2 separate regions of the Homo sapiens genome follow, and region 2 is linked to region 1. The links are contacts of gene promoters, found by promoter capture Hi-C in blood cells and fetal thymus (Javierre and others, 2016). All regions are on one chromosome and are shown on one strand. Each heading gives the region's core, a stretch centred on a gene start or on the middle of the fragment in contact. The rest is flanking DNA. Distances are from core to core; before and after follow the strand shown. Region 1 holds the start of SPMIP5 (sperm microtubule inner protein 5). Region 2 overlaps KCNK18 (potassium two pore domain channel subfamily K member 18).

Region 1 (6,059 bases), core at 1,628-4,127:
TCTTTGCTAATGTTCTCTTGCTACCTGCCCTGCTTCAAACGCTAAATGGTATGGGTCTTTCTTTGTTGCCAGCCATATTCTACAAATAAGACTTTTCAATATAGTTATGAGTAATATAATTTTATGTACATATAATGTTAGAATATTGTACAGAATCTTGGTTTCTACGATGCGCTTTTCTTGTTTCAAAAAGAGGAAAATGCTTGATTTTTGTTGATGATACTTTTGTTACTGTCCTTAATTTTCCATAGTTTGGTTTCTTAATTGTGCTCACTAAGCATCGATCTGTGCTGATGCCAAGCTATGGACTATGTACGCAAGACCGAGCAATAGACAGAGGTGCCTAGGGTCCAAACACACTGAACGCACGTGGACCGCCTGGATCAGGAGCCTCATCAGACCCTTCTCCATGCACATCCTTCCCAAACAGTCACAGATTCCATTGAAAGGAGCAGATTCTATCAGTTCTTCTGTGCAGACTTTAAGAGCTGAACGTTCTGGTTCTGGAAGCCATGTGACTGCGCAGAACAACCTAAGAAACCCTTTGTGTCCTGAGGGGTCGTTGACCTCTCCTTCCGGGTCGGAGCAGTCACTCTGAGGGCAAAGCGTGGTCCACTGTGTGTGATGTTTTCAGGATGCTAGGGTCAAAGAAAGAAACCAAGTGGTACATAAGCCCAGCTTTTCTGCTGGGCTAAGTGTAAGTGTGAGTAACATGGTCAAGCCCCTCTTTTTTGGGCTAATGTAAAGCCTTTCCTGCCTTGCATTAATGCTATCTCCCTGTGTACTGTTTCTCTTAAATGAGCAGATAGAAATCTGCAGTGTTGGCAGATAGGTGATGGAGAGGATGATAATTTTATCTTCTGGCCACAGAGCTGCAGCCCCAGTTGTCAGAGTCCTTAAATGAAACCCCCAAATCCATCCCTCCTTCCCTACCCCCACTGGAATATTCTAGAATAAGAGCACTGGATAAGTACACTTGAACACATTTTTCTAACCTTAGAAAATACCTACAAGGCCTGTTGTCTTGACCCATTACTCAATTGTCCCTGGCATATTATCTGATCTTCACGTTTCTTGGAAGCAGAATCATCAAGGCTTTCCTTTGTAACTGCCCTTTCCGTACACAGCAGGCATGAATAAATGCTGAGTAACAGACAAGTTACAGACAGGAGGGGAAAGAGGAGGAACCATACAACTGTTTTTGCAAAATGATGGCTGAGTCCAGATTATAGAGGTTGCCTTACCCTTAGAATGTTATTTAGACCAAGTTTAGCTTTTAGAGTCCAGGTCTGGTTAATTGCCAGGGTAGCAAAGAATCGCATGCACCAATGTAAACAGGAGTCAGAATGCATTATTAGTCAAAGATCGAATTTCACATTGTAGAGATGTATAGCTGTGATTAAGCTGCATATGTATGCTGGGAAACGGCTTGAGTGGATGGCTAATATAAAAGTTGTTGGCCATAATGCCACACCTCTCATCTGCTTGAAATATGGACCAGTATTCTAAAATATCAGCTACTGGGGTCTCATTCACTACAAGATAAATTCAAACTTCACAGAACTTTGCAGCAGTTCACCACCAGACGGGACTGTGTCTGCAAACTCTCTTGTCTTCACAGACGCCTAATAAAGCAAAACTCTGAATCTCATGTGGCCCAGATTTTTTTTCCCCCCATCCTGGGTTTGCAAACTGCATGATGGACACGTCAGTACTGATCTCCCTCTCTACCCCATCTCAGGTGGTGGAGAGAGAGTTTCAGTTTTTTCCAGGTGCTGTAAGTTTTCTTAAGTTATTCTAACAAGACTAGGCCCTTTGTTTGCTGGGAACCAAGGCCCCATCGATGGGCACAGAGCCCCTTTTCTCTGGAAGAAAGTGGTCTAGCCAGAGGGAGGGCAGGTAAGCAGAGTGACCACTGCCAATGCCACTGCACCCCAGTGTAAGTCATTAAAACATGCAGAAGGCCTGGCTGGGCTCTTGCCCCTGGGCATCCCAGCCGTCACGTGAAACTGGCTGTGTCCAGAGCCTACACCTGAGTCGCCCTCCACAGTTGGCTCTGAAAGCTTCCTGATGGCCCGAGGTATGTTCTAAATGGGGTGATAAAAGAGAGGTATAAATGGTGGTCGGCTCCACCAGCCTTCATTTGCAGTTCAATTTTCAGAAAAGTAGAGGTAGGGAAGGCCGGGAGGTGCAGCAAACAAGCGTGTCCTGGAAGTAGCGCAGCTTCAGCGTCATTTTCTGTAAAGGGAGCAGCCAGCACATGCTGGTTCATAGGGCGGACATCTTGGTGGGTTTCAATTCAATGAGAGGAAGTCTGGGTGTCCCTCCAAGAGTGATTAGAAAGAAGGATGACTCACCTTCCCCAGGTGGACAGCCACTCCTCTCTGCCTTCACCTGTCCCGGCCACCTGAAAATCTGCCCCTCCTAACAGGAGACAGGGAGGGAGGGGCTGCCAGGCCCAGGAAGCTCCTGTATTGGAGGCGCCAGGGCCCCCAGGCCTCGCCTCCTCCCGCCCACTGCCGGCCCCGCCCCCTGTTCCCGCCCACCCGCTTCCCCGGCCAGACCTGCAGACCCAGGCGCCGCAGTGTCTACACCCGCAAAAACGCCCGCTTTGACTTAGAGCCCTCCGCATATCCTTCCCCTGGCTGGGGCAGCCAAGGCGCGGAGGACAGCTCCGAGGCCAGATGTTTACTGCGCAGATGCCCGACTTTACACCGGGGTCCGGGCTGTGCCGGGCGCTGGGGGAAGCGCCCACCTTCCAGGTGGGACCGCGGGAAGGGTGGGGGAGGGGCAGGCTGGCGGTGGTGGGGCCTTTGTGCTCCACCGGGTGAGCGCACAAAGGCCTGGTGGAAGGCAGGGATCCTGGGCGGCCGGGCAGAGGCCAAGTGGGCACCGGATAGCGCCAGCCCCGCCCAGGTGAGCGCTGAGGTGGGATTGGAAGAGGGTGGCTAGGAGGGGCCCTACTTTCTACCCACTCCTAGCCCCCTTTCTCAGGACACCGCCTTTCTTCCCACCCTCCTCCCTGCCCACCTCCTCCAGGCAGGCTTATACCCCAGCTGATGCTTTTGGGCAACATATCCTGTCCCTGAGAGTTTAGAGGTCATCTGTTCGCACCCCCTTTCACTCTGGAACCCTGAAACCAGTTACCTAACCTCTCTGTGCCTTATTTTTCACATTTATAAAATGGGGGTTCCAACAGGAACTCATTCTTAGGGAAGCTGTGGGGATTAAAGGAGAATGCGGTTCTGCTGCAACCACATGGGGATAGCCAGTGTTCCCTGTCTGTTGCCTTTTTAAATTGGGGAATGGGTATAATATAGCATTTATATCATGGGGCTGTTGAGAGGATTAAACAAGCGTGGAAAGCTTTCAGAAAAGTAAGCAGGTGGTCAGTATGGGTGGGACATGGTCTCACAGCCAGGTCTGTCTGACTCCAGGCCCAGTGCTTCCTCCCAGGAGTCAGGTACGTGATGCCAGGGGTTAGAGTGGCCTAGACGCGGCACAGTCCTCACTGCTGTCAGCCTGGCGGGGGCTGAACTGTCTTAACAATCCCCATCATTGCTGACTAAGCCATGACTGTGGCCCTCTCCTCCACCCTGAATCCTCTTCTTCCAGCCTCAAAGGCATTTCTTTAAAGAGATGAACTGGCTCAGCAGGGCAGGACTTGGCAAGGCCTCAGCCCACTTGGGGGGAATGACCAGCGATACCCAAAGAGGGAAGGTGTCTTATTGCAGAAACAGCATCCACATAAACTGATGTTTCAGTGGAGCCCCCTGAAGCAGAGGGTGGCCTCTGCTTACCCTCCTTGGACTCCATGTCTGCCTTTTGGGACTTCCTGATTCCTTCAAGCCAGAATTTCTTCTCCCTTGTTTGTGTGTGTGTGTGTGTGTGTGTGTGTGTGTGTGTGTGCATGTGTGTGCCGGCGGGTGGGGGGAGGCTTCTGAGCATTGCAGGATGTTCAGTAGCATCCCATCCCCCACTTCTGACAGCCAAATATGCCTCTGGACATTGCCAGATGTTCCAGGGGTAATGGTGGGGGCTGGCAAAAATCACCACTGCAACCTGATTTCACCTGGATCAAGAAGGAGGTCTGGGGGTGTGCGGGCCTCATCTCTCTCCTCACCTGAGGCTCATGAACCTAACACAGGGGCTTCTGGGCTTGCTCAGAAGCTTTGCATTCCCAGCCTCTATCATGTTTCACAGCCATAGTATGAGTACAGTTCACAATTGTTGGATGGCTGGAGGTCGGATGGAGGGGAGAGGAGACCCTGGTAGGTGTGATCTACACACTGTTATCCAAGTTAACATAAAAGGTGATGGGCCCTTGGTAATAGGTCATTGGTTTGTGACTGAAGCCAGCTGTGTCTCTGGCTTTGGGTAAGGTGGTAGTGCTGCCTCTCAGCCCCAACTCCTGGCAGTCATTCTTCCACTCCCAAGAGCTTGTGCACACTCAATAGTAATTCCTTAAGGCAGTGACTTTTGATGAGACCGTTTCATTCCCTCTTCCCTCCACTAACAGAGAGCGAAATCATGGAGCCTTCCAAGACCTTCATGAGAAACCTGCCAATCACACCAGGCTATAGCGGTAAGTGTGGACGTACCCTGCAGCTGTGCCTGGCAGGGGAACCCGGGTCCTGGTCACTGTCCCTGCCTTGACCCACTGTCTGTGTCTGTGCAGCCAACTGGACCAGTCTAGGCGCTCTAGCTTCTCAGACATGCATTGAGAGCATTCCATCGCTGAAGATGGCTGATGGCCGGGTTCTGAGGGGCAGAACTTAGACCACACGTCCCAGAACATGGCCTGGTATGCAGAGGAAGCACTTAATGCCTGTTGAATGAATTTGGACCAGGATAGACACAATGTGATGAGGATAGACACAATGTGATGAGGATAGACACATGAATAAGTAGAGGCCCTGTTCTCCCCAAGTTGGTTTTCTCAAGTCCTCCACAAAGGTTATTCTTGTGCTCCCATCCTTTCCTGCATCCCCTAAAGGAAGGCTGGCCAACTGCCCTGGTCTACCTGGGACTGCCTTTGTCCTGGGACTGCCTGGGACTTTCCTTAACACTGAAAATCTTGCATTTGGGAAACTCCTCAGTCCTTGGCAAACCAGGACGATTGGTTGCCCTACCTAGAGGCTATTCCTCCTCAGGCTTCTGGGCTACTGAGAACTTACTAAGTCATATCCCTGTGGGTGACAAACCCAGTGGTCCCCACAGACCCTTGGCTCTCCCATACAGCCGTTCTCAGGAGGAATAGTACTTGGGTGATATTCCAGGGTTGCCCAACCTCACTCTGGTCCTAATGGCTGGTTGAGAATAGGCTTTGGGTTCTGACAAGCTGAGGTTCGAATCTCTGTTTGGTCACTGTCGATGAGACTGTAAGTAACTTGCCTCTCTGTGGTAAGTACAACATTCTATAAAATGGATGTATTTGTTTTCTAGGACCACTGCAACAAATTACCACAAACTATGTGGTTTAAAGTGATGGAAATGCATTCCCTCACAGTTCTGAGGCCAGACGTCTGAAATCGAGGTGCCCGCAGGGCCATGCTCTTTCTGAAGGCGCTAGGGAAGGATCCCACCTTTGCTTCTTCCAGCTTCTGGTGGCCCCAGTGTTCTTGGCTTGTGGCAGCATCTCTCCAGTCACTCTCTTCATCCTCACACGGCATTTCCCCCTTTGTCTCTGTGTCACAAGTCTCTCTCTTCTTTCCTCTATAAGGACATCAGTCATCAGATTTAGGACCCACCCTAAATCCGGGATGATCTCATTTTTAGGCCCTTAACTTAATTACATCTGAGAAGTCCCTATTTGTAGATAAATGCACATTCACAGGTACCAGGGGTTAGGACTTGCATATATCTATTTGGAGGATACAGTTCAACCCACTACATGGGATACCATAAGATTGTTGTGAGGATTAAAGGAGCCAGCATACATAACCTATTTTAAATGTCTTGGTCCTTAGCGAGACTCGATAAAGGTAGTTCGTATGCTTATGTCTGTGCATATATGCACTAATATAAAACCTAGGCAGACCAAAGTCGGCCCTGATGGC
Region 2 (6,059 bases), core at 1,551-4,050, 530 kb before region 1:
AAAAATTAGCCAGGCATGGCCGGGTGCAGTGGCTCACGCCTATAATCCCAGCACTTTGGAAGGCCGAGACGGATGGATCACCTGAGGTCAGGAGTTCAAGACCACACTGACCAATATGATGAAACCCCATCTCTACTAAAACTACAAAAATTAGCCATGCATGGCATGTGCCTGTAATCTCAGCTACTCGGGAGACCGAGACAGGAAAATTGCTTGAACCTGGGAGGCGGAGGTTGCAGTGAGCTGAGATGGCACCATTGCACTCCAGTCTGGGCGACAGAGCAAGACTCTGTCTCAAAAAGCTTGAGGAAAACAAAAAGACAAACTTCATAACTTCTAGCCCCTTTGCACAGTTCCGTGTCTTTCTTGGAGTTACTGCTCTCCTGGGCCTATTGTTTCCTCAAAGCATCCCCTGAGCTGTGGGTTCCCCTGGAAAGTCCAGCTTTGAGGTTTGACCTCAGCCCTGCCTGTGACTCCCTCACAGTGATTCCCTCTTAGAGCCTGTGGAATGGGATAGTCACAGCACTTACCTTGCAGGGTTGTGGTGAGAATTGCACAAGAAAAGGCTCCGAAAGCACCTGGACCCCACATCCAGCACGTGCTGAGTGGTGTAGCTGCTGTCCTTATTCTTTCTGTCCCTCACCCATCCCTGCCTGCATCAGCATTCAGGTGAACAAGGCCAGGCGCGGTGTCTCACGCCTCTAATCCCAGCATTTTGGGAGGCCGAGATGGGCAGATCACCTGAGGTCAGGAGTTCAAGACCAGCCTGGCTAACATGGTGAAACCCCCGTCTCTAGTAAAAATACTAAAATTAGCCAAGCGTGGTGGTACATGCCTGTAATCCCAGCTACTTGGGGACTGAGACACAAGAATCACTTGAACCAGGGAAGCAGAGGTTGCAGTGAGCCAAGATTGTGCCACTGCACTCCAGCAAGACTCCATCTCAAAAAAAAAAAAAAAAAAAAAAGCATTCAGGCAAATGGGAGAAACCACGTGGGGGCTGTGAGAGCCCTCCTGGGGCTGTGTGGCTATTTCTGAAGCTGGGTGCAGCAGACACCGGTTGCCCACCCAGCAGCCATTCCCTCCTTTCTTCCCTGCAGACCCACTGCTCCCCCAGCTGATTTAGGAGTAGATCCGATTGGTCTTAGTCATCCTGGTGCTCCAATCCCCTTGCCTGGGACCAGCTTAGAGGCGGCTGGGAGGCCCAGTGGGTGGCTCCTGGGAAGACATCGTCATGGCTGATGAACCATGCAGAGAGACAGCAGCCCTTTCTGTATAAGACACAGTTATGCTTGAATGGACTGTGGACCTTGGTGGCCTCTTGTGGCCCAGTGGGCAGAAGGATGGAGAAAACCTGATGCCCAATGCCATGACTGCGAATGGGCACTGGGCATGACCTGCATATCAGCCTAGAGCTGTCCTCACACTGGACTTCTTACTTGGAAGGTGACATTCTCCTTGCGGTTTAAGCCAGGCGAGTTGGGTTTTCTGTTAGTCACTGCTGAAGGCATCCTGGCTGCCACTTACATACATAGTCATCAGCTGACCCTGAGAGGCAGGTCTAGAAGTGCTTTTGGGTCCCAGTACAAGGCTCAGAGGGGCCACGTCCCTTGCTGGAGATTCCACAGCTCCAACCCAGGCTGGCCACTGTGCTCCATCCTGACCTTCAGCATGAGGGGCCCCAGCCTCTCTCTGCAACCCCTGTGGGCCAGGTCCTCCTAGGGATGGGCACTTGCTCTCTCGAAGGAGGAGAGGGCCCACAGTCCCTTTTGCCAGCCAAGAGGGGCAGGGGCTGAGTGATGGGCCACGCTCCTGGTGAGGGCTCTGACCCAAGAGCTCTGGCCCTGTGGCTGAAGGCAGCTCCATCGCCTCCTGTGTCTCCTGCCTGGCCTGGTTTGGCCCCTCCAACCTGGCCCCACTGCTGCCCCACCAGAAGGGAAGCTGGGGATGGGCCAGCCAGCTCAGAGTGAGCCCTTAATCACCAGAGGGACCTTAGTTACTGCTGACCCAGTGGCATCACGCCCCCAGCCCAGGAGGCCTAACTCTCCTGCAGCATCCCCTACCACTCTCCTGATCATTCTCTGCCCTCCAGCCACAATGGTCATGTCCTTAAAGGGGCCAGTAAACCAACGTTTTGCTCATAAGCACGAGGAAGCATCTCCCTCCCAGTTTCTATGTGCCAGGTGCATAGAAAGTTATACATAGAGGCAGCAGGGTGCTGGGTCTAGACCCAAGTGGCTGGGTTCAAACGCACATGAACTGTGCGACTTTTTGAAACTGACGGACCTGCTGGAGTGGGAACAATAACAGCACCCACCTCTTGGTGAGGATTAGATGAGCTAATCAGCATAAAGGTCTTAGAACAGGGCCTGGTGCATCTTCAGTGCAAAGGTGTCGGCCAGCGCAGCTGCTGCTATTTGTAGGTGTGCAATATAGATTTGAGGAAGGGAGGGAAGAAGAGAGGGAGAGGAGGGCCATCTCCACACCCCAATTCCAGTGTCCTTTGCCACCCAGAAACCCACCCTTCACAGGGCCACCGTGAGGGGGACTGTGGCTTTGCACTTACCCACGGTGCTGAACACCGTGCAGCAGAAAAAGAGCGAGCTCAGGAAGGACCAGTGTGTGGTCCTGTTAAACCACTGAGGCTTCACCTTCTGCAGATGCCCCTGGAGATCCTGTTTTCTGTCTTCCACCACTGGAGAAAGACATGACCAAGAGTTTGAGGAAAAGGTTCTGCTGGTAAAGACAAGCCCCGCCCCAGTGAAAGGGATAGTCTTCCCCAAGGACCAGCAGCCCCTTTGCCTTGTGGTCAGTATCAACACCAAAGCTCGGTGGTCGGAGTCCTCCTTTAAAATATTTCTGCAGCCTGGGTCCTGCCTTCAGTCCCTATGGAGATAAGGAGGCCACTTAGCCCTGTGAGAAGAGCACCTAACAGAGAGGCCCATGGGGGTCCCACCAGAGCTTAGCCCTGGCATTGCTGTGTAGTCTTTGCCTTTTAATTTTCTGAACCGCCATTTCTTTCATCTGTTTTTTTTTTTTCTTGAGACAAGAGTCTTGCTCTGTTGCCAGGCTGGAGTGCAGTGGTGTGATCTCGGCTCGCTGCAACCTCCACCTCCCTGGTTCAAGCAATCCTCTTGCTTCAGCCTCCTGCGTAGCTGAGACTACAGGGGCGTACTACCACACCCATGCCCAGCTAATTTTTGTATATTTAGTTGAGACGGGGTTTCACCTCATTGGCCAGGATGGTCTCAATTTCTTGACCTTGTGATCCACCTGCCTCAGCCTCCCAAAGGGCTGGGATTATAGGCGTGAGCCACCGCGCCCCGCCTCTATCATCTTTCAAAGGAAGATAACTTCTGCTCTGCCTCTCACACAGGGTTCTCAAGTACTAAAAGCAAAAGGCTTTTAGGAAAAGCAAGCTGTTACACAGATGCAAATCATACCCACTCCTGGAGGTCATTACGCTTGATGGAGTTTGCCGGGCACGATGGCTCACGCCTATAATTGCAACACTTTGGAGGGCTAAGGTGGGCGGATCATTTGAGGTCAGGAGTTCAAGACCAGCCTGGCCAACATGGTGAAACCCTGTCTCTACTAAAAATACAAAAATTAGCCGGGTGTGGTGGCACACACCTGTGGTCCCAGCTACTCAGGAGGCTGAGGCAGGAGAATTGCTTGAACCTGGGGAGTGGAGGTTGCAGTGAGCCAAGATCGTGCCACTGCATCCCAGCCTGAGTGACAGAGTGAGTCTCCATCTAGAAAAATAAAAATAAAAACTTGATGGAGTTTGATCATCATACCATCATACTGTGATCTTTGGGCACCAGCTACCTGTGAGTGTCTCCTACAGAGCTGGGAAAACTTGACTTCCTACACATTGGTTCCAAGGCTAACAGAGCAGGGTTGGGAACCCTGGTTTCCCAGAGAGGTTCCTGAATGGCTCGATTGGCCTGAGCCGCCAGTGGGCTTTGGGACCCAGAGGCCACCTGCTAGACTTGTTCGGCTTTAAGAGAATGGCACTGAACCTGGCATGCAGCAGGAAGTCTCTACTCCTTTTAATTGGCACCAGCCTGGGAGTCTACACACATCGATTCTAGACCCAGCTCTAACCCTGATAAGTTCTGTAACTGTGGACAAGAGGCTGCTTTCTGAGCCTCAGTTTCCCCATCAGAGAGACAGCCTGAGATGGTGGTGAAAGGTTCAGGCTCTGGAATCCAGATACATGGGTTTAAGTCCCTGGTTCCATTTTTCTAGTTTGTGAACTTGGACAAATTGCTTAACCTCCCAAGGCCTCAATTTCCTAATCTGTAAAAGAAGGACAACTTTTTGTTGTTTTCTTGTGAGGCTTCTTGTGAGGATTAGGTGAGATAATGTGTGAAGTGTTTGCCACAGGGTCTACATGCAACTAACCCTTATGGAACATTTTAATCTCCAGTGAAAATCGGTACAAAATGGAGTGGGACCAGCTCTGTGTTCCCATACCCTGCTGTGCATTGGAATCACCTGATAAACTTTATTTTTACTTATTTATTTTTGAGACATCTCTGGCTCTGTCATCCAGGCTGGAGTGCAATGGCACAATCACGGCTCACTGTAGCCTCAAACTCGTAGGCTCAAGCAATCCTCCTGCCTCAGCCTCCCAAGTAGCTGGGACTACAAGTGCACGCCACCTCATCTGACTAAATTTTTTAATTTTTTATAGAGACAGGGTCTCACCTTGTTGCCCAGGCCTAGTCTCAAACTCCTGGCCTCAAATGATTCTCCCACCTTGGCCTCCCAAAATGCTAGGATTATGGGCATGAGCCACCATGCTTGGCCTTATCCTTGAAACTTTAAGATTCCCAGCCCAGCCCTGGAGATCCTGATTAAGTGGGTTTGGAGAAGAGCCTGGGGATGTGTACTCTAGGCAGTCTCCCTGGTTGATTCTGATGTGTTGCTGGCTTAGAGAGCCTTGAACTTGCTGGTAGTCTAGGCCCTGCGATGGTGCAGTGTCCCTTTGGCAGCAATCTCCCAGGTCCACTGAGCAGGCTGGCGTCTGTCTGGCAAGGATGCAGGGAGTGGGACCCTCCACAGACAGGAGACTCTGCCTCCCTGGACTGGCCTCTTGTCTCTGGGAGCTGCACCTGTTCCCAAATCAAGGTCTGGGCTGTGGAAGGAGCCCCCACACCAGAGTGGGAGGGGAGGGGCTCCCTGCACCCCATTCTTCTCCTGACTTTTAGTGTCTGGTTTTCCTTTGTTTTTCATTTATCTACTCTCCCTTGTTTTATCTTGCTCTGTTGAATACAATAACAAGCTTCCTTCGAGGAACACAGCAGAGTAGAAACAAGTGACTAAATATGAAGAAAATGCAATGAGGACACTATAAAGTGACTTCTGTCTTCCAAGAGCCAGAATGTTCCTTGTCTCCTCTGCTTCTCACAGGGTCCCTGTGACCACCAAGTCTGAGATTGGGGGTCCCCTTCTCTCCCGCAGACTGAGACCCAGAGAGAACAAAGCTTTGCCTCCACGGATTGCAGAGCAAGCTGGGAGAGCAGCCAGGACAACAGCCAGGACCCCCACCCCTCCCCCCAGGTCTTCTCACAACACCTCCCCACTCCGCTGAGCCAGACAGCAGAAAAGGAGTTTGAAACAGGAAGTGGGGGCGTGGGTGGCAGGTGCTCCTGCTGGAATTTAAATCCAATTTGGGTTGTTCCCTAAATTCTCATCCCTGCAAACTGAATCCTGGGTCAGGCAGACATAGTTCTGAAAAGCAAGCTAGCCCCCCAACCCCAGCCCCAGATTTGCTCACCCATGCACCCCACCCCACCAAATTCCCAGTAATCCATCGTCCCCTGAGGCCACTGGTCTGGATGGGGCTGGGTGCTGAGGCACAGGAAGGGGAGCTGGTCTTTCCTGAGCACCTCAGGGTGCTCAGGGCCTTTCCTGCATTCTTCACAGCAACCCTGAGAGGCAGTTAGTCTCCCCACTTTTCAGAGGAGAAAACAGAGGTTCAGAAAGAAGTTACTCGCTTAAAGTGCCCAGGCATGAGGAGGATCCAGGCAGGCAGCTCCCAGACCCAG

The links. The method cuts DNA at HindIII sites, captures the fragments that hold promoters and counts their contacts. A CHiCAGO score of 5 or more calls a contact.
Region 2: a contact is called between a fragment that was not itself captured here and the fragment with the promoter of SPMIP5 in region 1, in 5 of 17 cell types (naive CD8 T cells, activated CD4 T cells, naive CD4 T cells and 2 more). The highest score is 6.1, in naive CD8 T cells.

Annotation. Positions count from the first base shown.
Region 1 is chr10:116,666,784-116,672,842 of GRCh38, reverse strand. It overlaps SPMIP5 (sperm microtubule inner protein 5), which reads left to right and starts at 2,877. Exons shown (of 6, transcript NM_001350931.2): 1 at 2,877-2,916; 2 at 4,520-4,585. The coding sequence starts at 4,531. It overlaps HSPA12A (heat shock protein family A (Hsp70) member 12A), which reads left to right. Exons shown (of 12, transcript NM_025015.3): 12 at 1-1,651. It overlaps HSPA12A-AS1 (HSPA12A antisense RNA 1), which reads right to left and starts at 2,788. Exons shown (of 3, transcript NR_187551.1): 1 at 2,565-2,788; 2 at 2,358-2,449; 3 at 105-638. The HindIII fragment of the contact is 1,303 bases long and covers 2,066-3,368 here.
Region 2 is chr10:117,197,795-117,203,853 of GRCh38, reverse strand. It overlaps KCNK18 (potassium two pore domain channel subfamily K member 18), which reads right to left. Exons shown (of 3, transcript NM_181840.1): 2 at 2,567-2,695. Among named protein-coding and RNA genes, the nearest start is that of KCNK18, 3.3 kb to the right of the region's middle. The HindIII fragment of the contact is 4,991 bases long and covers 305-5,295 here.